Regions from separate parts of the Homo sapiens genome. Here regions 2 and 3 are each linked to region 1. The links are contacts of gene promoters, found by promoter capture Hi-C in blood cells and fetal thymus (Javierre and others, 2016). All regions are on one chromosome and are shown on one strand. Each heading gives the region's core, a stretch centred on a gene start or on the middle of the fragment in contact. The rest is flanking DNA. Distances are from core to core; before and after follow the strand shown. Region 1 holds the start of CENPH (centromere protein H). Region 2 overlaps MARVELD2 (MARVEL domain containing 2). Region 3 overlaps OCLN (occludin).

Region 1 (4,048 bases), core at 311-2,810:
TACAAACACAGATTTTTATCAGGAGATACAGAAAAATAACAAAGATACTAATCCTTGGATTACTAATTCATATAGTTTTTCAGTTGTTCTATAAATCCAAAAATCATACATAAGTAGAAAAACTATGAGCAAATGGTAATTTAAGATGACAGCAAGGGTGAGGAGGAAAAAACAATAAAAAAGAAATAGACATCTTTTCATTTTTCAAAACATTTAAGAAAGAAAAAAATGGTAATTAATTTTTTTTTTTTGAGTCAAGAGTCTTGCTCTATTGCCCAGGCTGGAGTGCAATGGCACAATCTTCTGCTCACTGCAACCTCTGCCTCCCGGGTTCAATCAATTCTCTTGCCTCAGCCTCCTGAGTAGCTGGGATTACAGGCGCCCGCCACCACGCCCAGCTAATTTTTGTATTTTTAGTAGAGACGGGGTTTCACCATGTTGGCCATGGTTGGCCAGGCTGGTCTTGAACTCCTGACTTAAGGTGATCCGTCTGCCTCGGCATCCCAAAGTGTTGGGATTACAGGCGTGAGCCACCGCGCTCAGCCAATAATGATTTTTTTAAAACTACCTCTGTTATGATATAGAACAGAGGACCGCAAATTTTTTTCTGTAAAGGACCTGATAGTAAATTTTTTAGGGTTTGTGAGTCACACGGTCTCTGTTTTAGCTACTCAATTCCACCCTTGTGGCAGGAAAGTTGTACTCCAATAAAACTGTTTATGGAAACTGAAACTTGAATTTCTAATAGAGTTCACGTGTTATGAAATATTTTTATGATCTTTTCCCTGCAACACTTAAACATAAAAACTATTCTTAGCTTGAGTGGTCACACAAAAATAGGCAGTTAGGCAGATTTGGCCCAGGACCTTCTCCTGCTCACTAGTTTAGAAGACGAATGTCCCTTCTCATCGAATCTTCCCCAGCAACCGCTTAGTGGAAAAGTATAAACACCGTCCGCTTAGTAGAATTTATAACATATAAAGCTTCTGGGTTACAAAGGGTCGTAGTTCTAAAAGAAATGGTAGGGGCACCTTCCTTCCAGTTTAGCTCTGGCATTCAATTTGTCTGTAAACCAGAGAGGTAGGGGGAGGGCGGGGAAACAGGAGGAGAAATTACAGCTTCTAAGGGCCCGGGGCACTGTGCTCAACACTTTCCTAGACTATCTCATTTAACCCTTGTAACCTCTCTCCAGGGGGTCATTTTTCTCTCCTTTTCGCTGATGAAGAAAGAGCTTCAACAGTTTAAGTGAATGAGGCAATCACGGAGACCTGACGTGACCGAGCGTGAATTCGAACCCTAGCCCTTCTGAGCAAGGGCGGAGTTCCGGGCCACAACGCCCACTTGGCCCCGGCTGAGGAGGCCAAAGGGAACAACCTGAGGAGCAGGGTCATGCGGTCCTCGCTGCACGCCGCCTGGGCGCCGGCGACCTGCGGTGGCCCGCCTGCCCGGCCTTCCCCTCCGGAGTCCGCGGGCTCGTCGGCGTCTTGCATCTGGGGCTGCTCCTCCATTGCTGGTTGAGGGGAAAGGCTACCACTCAACAGGCAAACGCGCTCAGAAAAGGTCGCTTTTCCCGCCACTAAATGGACGCCGGGAAAAGGCCCGAGGGCCCCGCCCCTTCCGCCCAGGGCCCCACCCTTTCCGCCTTGTTTTTCGGTTGCCGTGGTTACTACGGGCTCCTCTTTCATCCGGGCTCTACTGGTGAAAATAACTGCAGACGGCTGGTAAAAAGTTGGAATAGCTTTCGTTAAGCGTCGGATGTGTAGAGTGCTGAGTTAGGGGCTGGACTAGAGACGTTGGGACATCTCCCGGGAACAGCAGCCTGGAGGGGAAAAATCTCCTGACCTAAGTGGTCATTCGGCCTTGGCGCTTGGACACGGGAGTGCGGCGACAGCCATATGTCCATCCATCTTGGCACTTTTCCGTCCTCTGCCTTTGAAGATGGGTGTGCCCGGCAGGCTGTGAAAGATAAACATTAGAGGGTTGTTTAGAAGACTTTTTTGACCTGAGCCCATGAGGTGCATACCCTTTGTTTGGCGGAGAAACCAGTGGCTTCTGAAGATCAGGGACGGGCCACAAGTGCGAGGCATTGCAGACATTTCGAACCCAGACTTCCAGCCTGGAGACATCCACACGCTTCCAGTTTCTTGCACTGGTACTTCATTCTGTCATTATGATTGCCACCACTCGTAACTGAGAGTTGCGTGCCCTCAAGTTTTGAGTGTCTGCAGGGTACCTTTGAGCTTTCTTAGCTGTGTAGTGAGTGGGGGGAATGGAGAAAATGAAGGACAGATGACTGATTTGTAGTTTTTCATTTGGACACTGTCCTTGCCGCACAAGCACAGCAGCTTGAACCTCTTTGAACAAGAGTCGAGAGTTCTTTTACAGCTAATTACCCACTAGTTAAACTTGATCATACTGTGCTGTTTTCTTCCTCTCCATTGTCAATGTAATACGGCTCCTGACAAAAGTTAAATTCGCTGGGCGTGGTGGCTCACCCCTGTACTCCCAGCACTTTGGGGGCTGAGGCGGGTGGATCACCTGAAGTCAGGAATTCAAGACCAGCCTGGCCAACATGGTGAAACCCCGTCTCTACTAAAAATACAAAAGTTAGCTGCGTGTGGTGGCGGGCGCCTGTAATCCCAGCTACTCAGGAGGCTGAGGCAGGAGAATCGTTTGAACCCGGGGGGGCGGAGGTTGCAGTGAGCTGAGATCGCGCCACTGCACTTCAGCCTGGGTGACAGAGTGAAACTCCGTCTCAAAAAAAAAAAAAAAAGCCGGGCGCTGTGGCTCACACCTATAATCCCAGCACTTTGGGAAGCCGAGGGGGGAGGATCTCGAGGTCAGGAGTTGGAGACCAGCCTGACCAACATGGAGAAACCTCGTCTCTACTAAAAATACAAAATTAGCCAGGCGTGGTGGTGGGCACCTGTAATCCCAGCTACTGGGGAGGCCGAGGCAGGAGAATCCTTTGATCCCGGGAAGCAGAGGTTGCAGTGAGCCGAGATCACACCAGAGATGCACGCCAGCCTGGGCAACAGAGCAAGATTCCTTCTCGAAAAACAAACAAACAAACAAAAAAACAGTTCAAAAGACACAGAATGGACTGGTGGCGATGGCCCACGCCTGTAATCCCAGCACTTTGGGAAGCCAAAGCGGAAGGATCGCTTGAAGTCAGGAGAACAGCCTGGGCAGCATAGTGAGACCTCGTTTCTACTTAAAACAAAAACAAACAAACAAACAAAAAAACAACAGGTGTGGTGACTTAGACCTGTGGTCCCAGCTACTCAGGAGGCTGAGATGGGAGGATCACTTGGGCCCCAGCCGTTGAGGACTGCAGTGACCTATGATCGCACCACTGCTCTCCATCCTGGGTGACAGAGTGAGACCCTGTCTCAAAAAAAAAAAAAAGCACAGGATGTAAAATCAGGCATTAGGTTTGCTATTCCTACATGTAAACTTATGGAACATTTTCTTGTTTCCTTTCATTTTGTTTTACAAAAAGGATGATCCCATTGTTAACTTTTTCTCTTTACCACTTAGTGGATGCCTTCCACTGTCTCACCACAATCTTATCCTTTTAAGCAGTTGCCTATCAGGTGTCTCCACTGCTCACATTTGGGACAAAAATAATGCAATGTGCAGTCGCTCACGCCTGTAATCCCACCACTTTGGGAGGCCAAAGTGAGCAGATCACCTGAGGTCAGTAGTTTGAGACCAGCCTGGCCAACATGGTAAAACCCCATCTCTACTAAAAATACAAAAAAGACTGTCTCAAAATTTTTTTTTATAAAAATAATAATGCAATGGTTATCCAACCGTGAGAATTCGGAGGAGACCTTGTTAAAACACATTTCTGGGTGTCTCTAGGATTGTTTTGCATTTGTAACAAGTTCCCAGGTAAAGTTGCTCTTGCTTATTGAGGAGGACACTTTGAGAACCACCACCATAAAGGGTCATAAAACGCAATTAAAAAAAAAATTCACAGTAAAACAAAAAAGGGTGGGTGTAAGGCCCTGCATGGTGGCTGATGCCTATAATCCTAGCACTT
Region 2 (4,033 bases), core at 265-2,764, 260 kb before region 1:
GAGTAGCTGGGACTACAAGTGCCCGCAACCAAGCCCAGCTAAATTTTTTGTATTTTTAGTGGAGACGCGGTTTCACCATGTTAGCCAGAACAGTCTCGATCTCCTGACCTCTTGATCCGCCTGCCTCAGCCTCCCAAAGTACTGGGATTACAGGCGTGAGTCACCGCACCTGGCCTCTCTTCTTTCTTTCCTTCCTTCCTTCCTTTCTCTCTCTCTCTCTTCCCTTCCTTCCTTCTTTTCTTCTTTTTCTTTCTTCTTTCTTTTCTTCTTTCTCTTTCTTTTCTCTTTCCCTCCCTCCCTCCCTTCCTCTCTCTTTCTCTCCTTCCTTCTTTCTCTTTCTTCTTTCTCTTTCCCCCTCCCCTCCCCTCCCCTCCCCTCCCCTCCCTTCCCTTCCCTTCCTTCTGCAGAGTCTTACTCTGTCACCCAGGCTGCAGTGCAGTGGCATGGTCTCAGCTAACTGCAACCTCCACCTCCTGGGGTCAAGCAATTCTCATGCCTCAACCTCTCGAGTAGCTGAGATTACAGGCGTGCACCACCACACCAGGCTAATTTTTGTACTTTTTTTTTTTTTTTTCTGAGACAGAGTCTTGCTCTGTCGCCCAGGCTGGGGTGCAGTGGCACGATCTCAGCTCACTGCAACCTCCACCTCTGAGGTTCAAGCGGTTCTCGTGCCTCAGCCTCCCGGGACTACCTCCAGGGACTACAGTGTGCGACAACACGCCCAGCTAATTTTTGTATTTTCAGCAGAGAAGGGTTTTTGCCATGTTGGCCAGGCTGTTCTCAAACTCCTGGCTTCAAGTGATCCACCCACATCAGCCTCCTAAAGGGCTGGGGTTACTGGCATGAGCCACCACCCCTGACCTAATCAATTTTCTATAATAAATATATTACCTATATACTTTTTAAAAAAGCTTTTTATAACTTTTATTATTCAAAAGAAGTCATTTTGATAGTCTATAGCCACCTTATTATTTAACACAATGAAAAGTATATTTTGAGTATCTAGCCACCAGTTATTGAGCAAGTATCTTCGTGGTGTTTTACATTATTTAATTTTCACAACAATTTCGTCAGGTGGTATTATCGCCACATCACAGTTAAGGAGGCTGATGGTTGGAGATGTTAATTTGTCAAGGCCACATAGTAAGAAATGGAGTCTTGGTTGTGATGAGCTCAGAAGTTCACCTTCTTCGCCTTCTGCGGGGCTAAACCATCCCTCCTGCCTTCTGCCTATCCCCAGTTTGTCTATTATAGGACAAGTAGTCTATTACATGCTCGAGCAGGTCTGTCATACTCTCCTTTAAAAACCCATTGAAAGCAGCCGGGCATGGTGGCTCATGCCTGTAATCCCAGCACTTTGGGAGGCCAAGGCAGGTAGATCACTTGAGGTCAGGGGTTCAAGACCAGCCTGGCCAGCATGGTGAAACCCTGTCTCTACTAAAAATACAAAAATTAGCTGGGCATGGTGGTGTGCGCCTGTAATCCCAGCTACTCAGGAGGCGGAGGCAGGAGAATTGCTTGAACCCAGGAGGTGGTGGTTGTGGTGAGCGGAGGTAGCACCACTACACTCCAGCCTGGGCAACAGAGCAAGACTCCATATCAAAACAACAACAACAATCCCAAAAAAGAAACCCATTGAAAGCATTAAAGTAGACAATTTTAAAGTGATTTTACAGCCAGGTGTGGTGGCTCATGCCTGTAATCCCAGCACTTTGGGAGGCCAAGGTGGGCAGATCACTTGAGGTCAGGAGTTCAAGATCAGCCTGGCCAACACAGCAAAATCACATCTCTATTAAAAATACATAAATTAGCTGGGCGTGGTGGTATGCGTCTGTAGTCCTCATTGCTCAGGAGGCTGAGGTGGGAGGGTCACTTGAACCCAGGAGGGGGAGGTTGCAGTGAGCCAAGATCATGCCACTGCACTCCAGCCTGGGCGACAGAGCAATACTTCATCTCAAAAATAAAATGTCTAAAGCCATTTTTGTAAAAATAAATAAATAAATAAATAAATAAAGGTGATTATACACACCACAAAGGTCTGGGAGGGTATACTGCAAACAGTATATACTGCCAGGGAATAGAATTGGTACTGGTAGGACTTTTGTTTTCTAAGCTTTTATACTCATTATTTTTAAAAATTATAATAGTTAAAAAAAGATGGTCAGAAAAAATTGTAGACTTTTCCTGTGTTGTATCTTTCAAATGTCGGTGCATCTCAATATCAGAAACAATTTCTAGAAATATGTACTTCATTACCACCCCCAAAGTCTCTACCTGTTTCACTGATTTCAGTATCTTTAATGCTAACATATCTGGGACAATAAAAGCATTTGACATATAACTGGCATATACTTTTTTCAAGTTTTAGATATACTGACATATCCTCATATTAATTTTCAAATTAGAATACATGTTGAAATAATATGGAAGGGCTGGGTGCAGTGGTTCACACCTGTAATCCCAGCACTTTGGAAGGCTGAGGCAGGGGAATTGCTTTGGGAGGCCGAGGCGGGCAGATCACTTGAGGTCAGGAGTTCGAGAACAGCCTGGCCAACATAAGATGAAACCCTGTCTCTACTAAAAATATAGAATTTAGCTGGGTGTGGTGGTGAGTGCCTGTAATCCCAGCTACTTGGGAGGCTGAGGCAGGAGACTAGCTTGAACCCAGGAGGCAGAGGTTGCAGTGAGCCAATCACACTACTGCACTCCAGCCTGGGCGACAGAGTGAGTCTCCATCACAAAAAATAAAAGAAAAAATAATATGGAAGAAAGAAAATGTACAGGGAAGTACTTTTCCTTCTGAATCTTGTAACTTGCCAAATGTAGCTATTACAGGCTAAACTGTGGCCTCTCAAAAAGATAACACTGAAGTTCCTAACCTCCAGTACCTCAGAACGTGACTTTACTTGGAAATAGCGTCCTAGCAAATGTAATGAGTTCACAGGAGGTCATGCTGGAGAAGGTGGGCCTCTCATCCAATATGACTGGTATGGCCAGACAGGGAGAAGGCCATGCGAGAATGGAGGATTGGAGAGATGCATCTACAAGCCAAGGAACATCAAACATGGCCAGCAAACCACCAGAAACTAGAAGAGGACTCCCCTACAGGTTTTTGAGGGAGCATGTCCCAGCTGACACCCTGCTTCCAGACTTCTAGGCTGCAGGTCTGTGAGACAACACACTTCAGTTGTTTTGAGCCACTCAGTTTGTAGTACATTGTCATGGCAGTCCTAGGAAACTAATATAGTGGCCTGGACTTTGAATTATTGCGAATAATGGGGGAAGGAGAAACAGTGAGTCACCTGAGCATCGTGACCTACGGGTTTTCAATGACTTTCCAGTTTATTTTCTGACAAGTGAAAATATTTTCAAGAACATGCACAGTGAACACAGGAATGCTAGGAAGGCAAACATAAAAGGGCACACACACACACGGCAGGTGACTGAAACTTTAATGCACCTAGGGATTGACCACAACATTTACAAATCAGTGTTACTGCATTGGTTTTTCAAAGATTAGCTACATTTATAAACTTTATTTTAAAAGTTTCACAAAGTTAAATTTCCTTAACACTTCAACAGGAATCTAACTCTTTACAGTCTATCAAAATGGTAATATTTTACCTTTTTTTTTTTTTAAAGCACTGGTGCTCTTCTTAAGTGAAATGTTAACACAGGGCTCAATACATAAAAGAGAAAGTGAAGTTGTTCCATTTGGGGGGTCCCATAAGGGGCCTCATGTTTCCCTAGGTGTTACCCCTTCAGACACAGCACAGCCTACAAAGCCATGGAATTAAAATATTAACAATGAATGCATAAAGATTTCACTGACAAATAAAAACCAGGGAGTGCATTCAGTGACCACAACTTTCTAAGCTTCTGCTTTTCCACATGCTTTTCTTTGGTTTTATCACTTTAGAAAACTCTTTGAACATTAATTGTCTGAATGGCAGCTATATTAGTCAGAAGCTGTAATGCTACACCTGGGAATTTATCTACATGATAGATGCTGCTGAATAAAATCCAACAAGAA
Region 3 (4,382 bases), core at 1,834-4,333, 340 kb before region 1:
AAGAGTAGGATTTTCCCAGCTTGGTGATTAAAGTGGAGATATACCTCAGGCATCAGAGGGAGGAGCATCTTAATCTTAAGGATCATCTCCAGGTTTACAACCTGCCCATTCCACCCTCCTCAGCCCTATGCCCTTGTACTACAGGTTCTCAACAGTAAGTGGTCTAACTCGTTTTTCCTGTTTTTTGATATTTTACACCCTCAGATACTCCCCCAAATAAAAGCTTCAAAATCGACTGGAAAGTTCTCTTAGACTTTTCTCCACCTTTGGTCACTTGAAGGCAGACGGTCCCACATCTACTAATCCCACAAATAATGAGATCGTGGACCAGGTTTGAACATGTCTGGTTATTTTACCTTGCTCAGATGGCATTTAGGATTTAGAAAACAAATTGCCCCTACCCAACTGCACGCTGTCCAAAGAAACAGTAATAATATAGACCAATGAGAACTATAAATAAAATCCTAAGCCCCCAACCGAGAAGACCCCCTTTTGGCCAAGAGTGCCCCAGAGAAATCTTAACTGAGTTCCTGGCCATGACAGAATGGGAGGTCAGACACAACTCATTTACTCCCTCCCTTCTGCGGTTCAGACACAGCTGACCAGCATTCATGTTAACATAGAGATCATCAAGACTGATAGAAATAGACTCTTTGTGGCAATAAAACACCAAATTATAAATAAGACCTAAGGCCATGCCAGACAAGGGTTAAATCCCACACCCCTACATTTGTCCTAACCATACACTATGTTCTAACCACCATAAGGTTGCTCTTTTTCTCCAGCAGCCAAACAAGCACTGGCCTCAAGATAAGCAAGATTAAAGCAATTGCGTAAGCCTACTATGTACCCACAAAAATTAAAAATAAAAACTTACAAAAAAATACAAAAAGAAAACAACTGCAGCTCATCCACCAACAGATACTGACTGACCCCTGTTCCACAAGCCATACAGCTTTGACTGGACAAGAAACTGATTTCAGTAACTTTCTCCTGATCAGAGACTAGCAGCCGTGGAATGGTTCTGGCCAGCTTGCAGAGGCTGCACGTGAGTGCCTTGTGTTCCTGCTTCACCTTTTTTTTTTTTTTGAGACGAAGTCTCACTCTGTTACCCAGGCTGGAGTGCAGTGGCACTGTGTCGGCTCACTGCAACCACCGTCTCCTGGGTTCAAGCAATTCCCCTGCCTCAGCCTCCTGAGTAGCTGGGATTGCAGGCGCCCACCACCACACCCAGCTAATTTTTATATTTTTAGAAGAGAAGGAGTTTCACCATGTTGGCCAGCTTGTCTCGAACTCCTGACCTCAGGTGATCCGCCCGCCTCGGCCTCCCAAAGTGCTAGGATTACAGGTGTGAGCCACCGCGCCTGGCCCCTGCTTCACCTTTTGATGTACAGGGCCTAATTGTAATACATTTAAATGTTAAGTCTCCACCCCAAAGTGAACATGGGATGTATGTAACACGAATGTTTGTTCATTACGCATGCATCAGGACCCCATTCACGGATATTCATAGCTCCTCCTATAACCTGTTGAATAGGAATGTATGGCCAACCTGTTCAGCATTAAGCTCTTGTCCCAACTCCATCTCCTTCTAAGTGCCTTTCAGTGTCTGCCAGAAGCTACGCTTCCAAGACTGTCAAGGATGGCCACCTTACAGGTTGTAACCCTTTATAATAAATAGTCTCCTTTCTACTTTTTTCTTTCACAGCTGGAGATCCTTTCTAAATTTATAATTGTGTCAATCTTTAGGTTGACACCACCAAAGGTAAATTCTGAAATTCCCTGAGAGTCAATAAGTTATTAGAGCTCTGGAAGGGGATGAGGTAGAAAAACCTTGTACTCAGTGAGGCTTACCAATGATCTCATTCAAGGCCCCTTACTTAAACAAAAATCCCTGTGAAGACTGTTAAATATACCTGTACCTCATGCCAGAGTTTTTCAACAGGTGTGCCAGGATGTCTTTGGTCGCCCAGCCTGTGAGCCAATCATCTGCAGTTCCAGATCCCCCTCAGTTTACTCCAGTATTTTGTACTAAGTCACCATTTTCCAAGTATGCCATGATGTAATGATAACTTGCTTACAGTTTAATGGTTGCAGCTTGAATCTATAAAATAGTGGTTCTCGAAATATGGTCTCCAGACCAGCTACATTAATATTACCGACCTAGGCCCCAGCCAGGCCTAGCGCACACATCATAAACTCCAGGGTGGGAGTGAGTGGGCTGTTTCAATGAGCCCTCCAGGTGATTCTGTTGCCTGCAAAAGTTTGAGAACTACTGACGTAGACACAATTCTCTTCTATGTTGCAGACCACTGTACCTCGTAAAGACCTACAAGTTAAGGGTCTCTTTTGCCTACAGTGATGCTCAAACCTGACAGTGCCTGGTTTTCTGGTCCAGGTGTCATAAAATAACCTAGAAAAACGGTGAGAAGGTTCACTCGGCATGAGAACAGCTGAGGGTACCTACTTTTATCACAGTGGAAACATTAGTTGATTCTCAGCCCTGAGAAGGACCTCTATCATACCATCAACACAATGGAAAAGGGAAGGAACACATCTTTCCCTAAAGGAGAGAAGGCACTTTGGCTTGTCATATCTATAAAGGGTTAGTCATTTGTGAAAAGGACACTAATGATCACGCAATAGACTATACTTCCTCAGGACTATGCCTCATAAAAAGTTGACCTTTACCCCATAAAAACTCTTATAAAAATCAAGAGTATCAGAGAAACTGGTTGAGTTTTGCCACCTCAGCAATTGCCAAAAGGTAAAAAGTAGAAGAGAAAACACATTAGGCCAATAAACATGACATGTTCAGAAGAAATATAAACCAAGACAACACTGATACACTTTTACACGTTTGACTGGAAAATATTATAAAGTCTAACACCACCAAGAGTTGCTGGTTTAGATTATATATGAAAAATAATTTGACATTGTCTTATAGAAATGTACACTCACAGGCCAGGCACGGTGGCTCACGCCTGTAATCCCAGCACTTTGGGAGGCTGAGGCGGGCGGATCATGAGGTCAGGAGATCGAGACCATCCTGGCTAACATGGCGAAACCCCGTCTAGACTAAAAATACAAAAAATTAGCTGGGTGTGGTGGCGGGCACCTGTAGTCCCAGCTACTCAGGAGGCTGAGGCAGGAGAATGGCGTCAACCCGGGAGGTGGAGCTCGCAGTGAGCCGAGATCGCACCACTGCACTCCAGCCTGGGTGACAGAGCGAGACCCTGTCTCAAAAAAAAAAAGAAAAGAAAAGAAAGAAATGTACACTCACAAACGCTGCATCCCAGAAGTTCCACTCTTAGGTACATAGCCAAGAGAAATGTTCACAAGTATAGGTGATTTAAAAATGTTCATGGGGCCAGGCGGGATTCACGGGATTACACTCACACCTGTAATCCCAGAACTTTGGGAGGCCAAGGCAGGTGGATCACTTGAGGTCAGGAGTTTGAGACCAGCCTGGCCAACATGGCAAAACCCTGTCTCTACTAAAAATACAAAAATTAGCCAGGTGTGGTGGCATACGCCTATAATCCCAGCTACTTGGGAGGCTGAAGTGGGAAAATTGCTTGAACCCGGGAGGCGGAGGTTACAGTGAGCCAAGATCATGCCACTACATTCCAGCCCAGGCAACAGAGCAAGACACTATCTTAAAAATAAATAAATAAAAAATAAAAATGTTCATGGCAGTTGTAATGGTCTTAATAATCCAAAACCCCATTAAAAGGAAACTGGATAAACTGCTGTGAAATGTGATAAAATAGAGGACCAGACAATGGCGACATCAGATGGACTTCAACTCCATCAACATGTATTAATCTATAACCTAACTCTGCGTAAAAAGGCAAATGCCAAGACACTACATGCAGGTACACCTTCTACAAAGTTAAAAAACACCCAAAACAAAATCATGTTGCTAAGTTATACATGTATGCAGGTAAAAACTTAAAAAGCAAATTATAATAAACTCAAAATTCTAGATAGGCTACCTCTGGGGGCAGGTAGAAGCAAGTAGATGAGAGAGTAAAAAATGTATAATGTAACTTAGTAATGTATTGTAATTATTAGGTGGGATGGTAGATCTGCAGGTGTTCATTATGAAACAATAAATGTACCAGGAATGCTATGCATGGACTAAAGGTGATAATGTCATAAACTAAGAATTGAATTAATCTATTTCTGTGCACCTGAAGTCCAGTTTTTGTTTTTAGAGACAGAGTCTCACTTTGTCACCCAGCCTGAAGTGCAGTGGCACATCTCGGCTCACTGCAACCTCCACCTCCCAGGTTCAGGTGATTTCCCACCTCAGCCTCCAGAGTAGCTGGGACTACAGGCATGCGCCACCAGGCCCAGCTAATTTTTGTATTTTCAGT

What was found. The method cuts DNA at HindIII sites, captures the fragments that hold promoters and counts their contacts. A CHiCAGO score of 5 or more calls a contact.
Region 2: a contact is called between a fragment that was not itself captured here and the fragment with the promoter of CENPH in region 1, in 2 of 17 cell types (neutrophils and total CD4 T cells). The highest score is 6.1, in neutrophils.
Region 3: a contact is called between a fragment that was not itself captured here and the fragment with the promoter of CENPH in region 1, in 1 of 17 cell types (neutrophils). The highest score is 7.9, in neutrophils.

What each region holds. Positions count from the first base shown.
Region 1 is chr5:69,187,095-69,191,142 of GRCh38, reverse strand. CENPH (centromere protein H) reads right to left here and starts at 1,560. Exons shown (of 9, transcript NM_022909.4): 1 at 1,375-1,560. The coding sequence starts at 1,508. It overlaps LOC112267932 (a long non-coding RNA gene), which reads left to right and starts at 1,666. Exons shown (of 2, transcript XR_002956215.2): 1 at 1,666-2,152. RefSeq lists a silencer at 1,509-1,628 and enhancers at 1,487-1,781, 1,709-1,948. The HindIII fragment of the contact is 12,435 bases long and covers 986-4,048 here.
Region 2 is chr5:69,443,615-69,447,647 of GRCh38, reverse strand. It overlaps MARVELD2 (MARVEL domain containing 2), which reads right to left. Exons shown (of 7, transcript NM_001038603.3): 7 at 3,318-4,033. Among named protein-coding and RNA genes, the nearest start is that of MARVELD2, 31 kb to the right of the region's middle. The HindIII fragment of the contact is 1,202 bases long and covers 914-2,115 here.
Region 3 is chr5:69,523,984-69,528,365 of GRCh38, reverse strand. The region is part of intron 4 of OCLN (occludin); the gene reads right to left. Among named protein-coding and RNA genes, the nearest start is that of SNORD13B-1, 13 kb to the left of the region's middle. The HindIII fragment of the contact is 5,716 bases long and covers 226-4,382 here.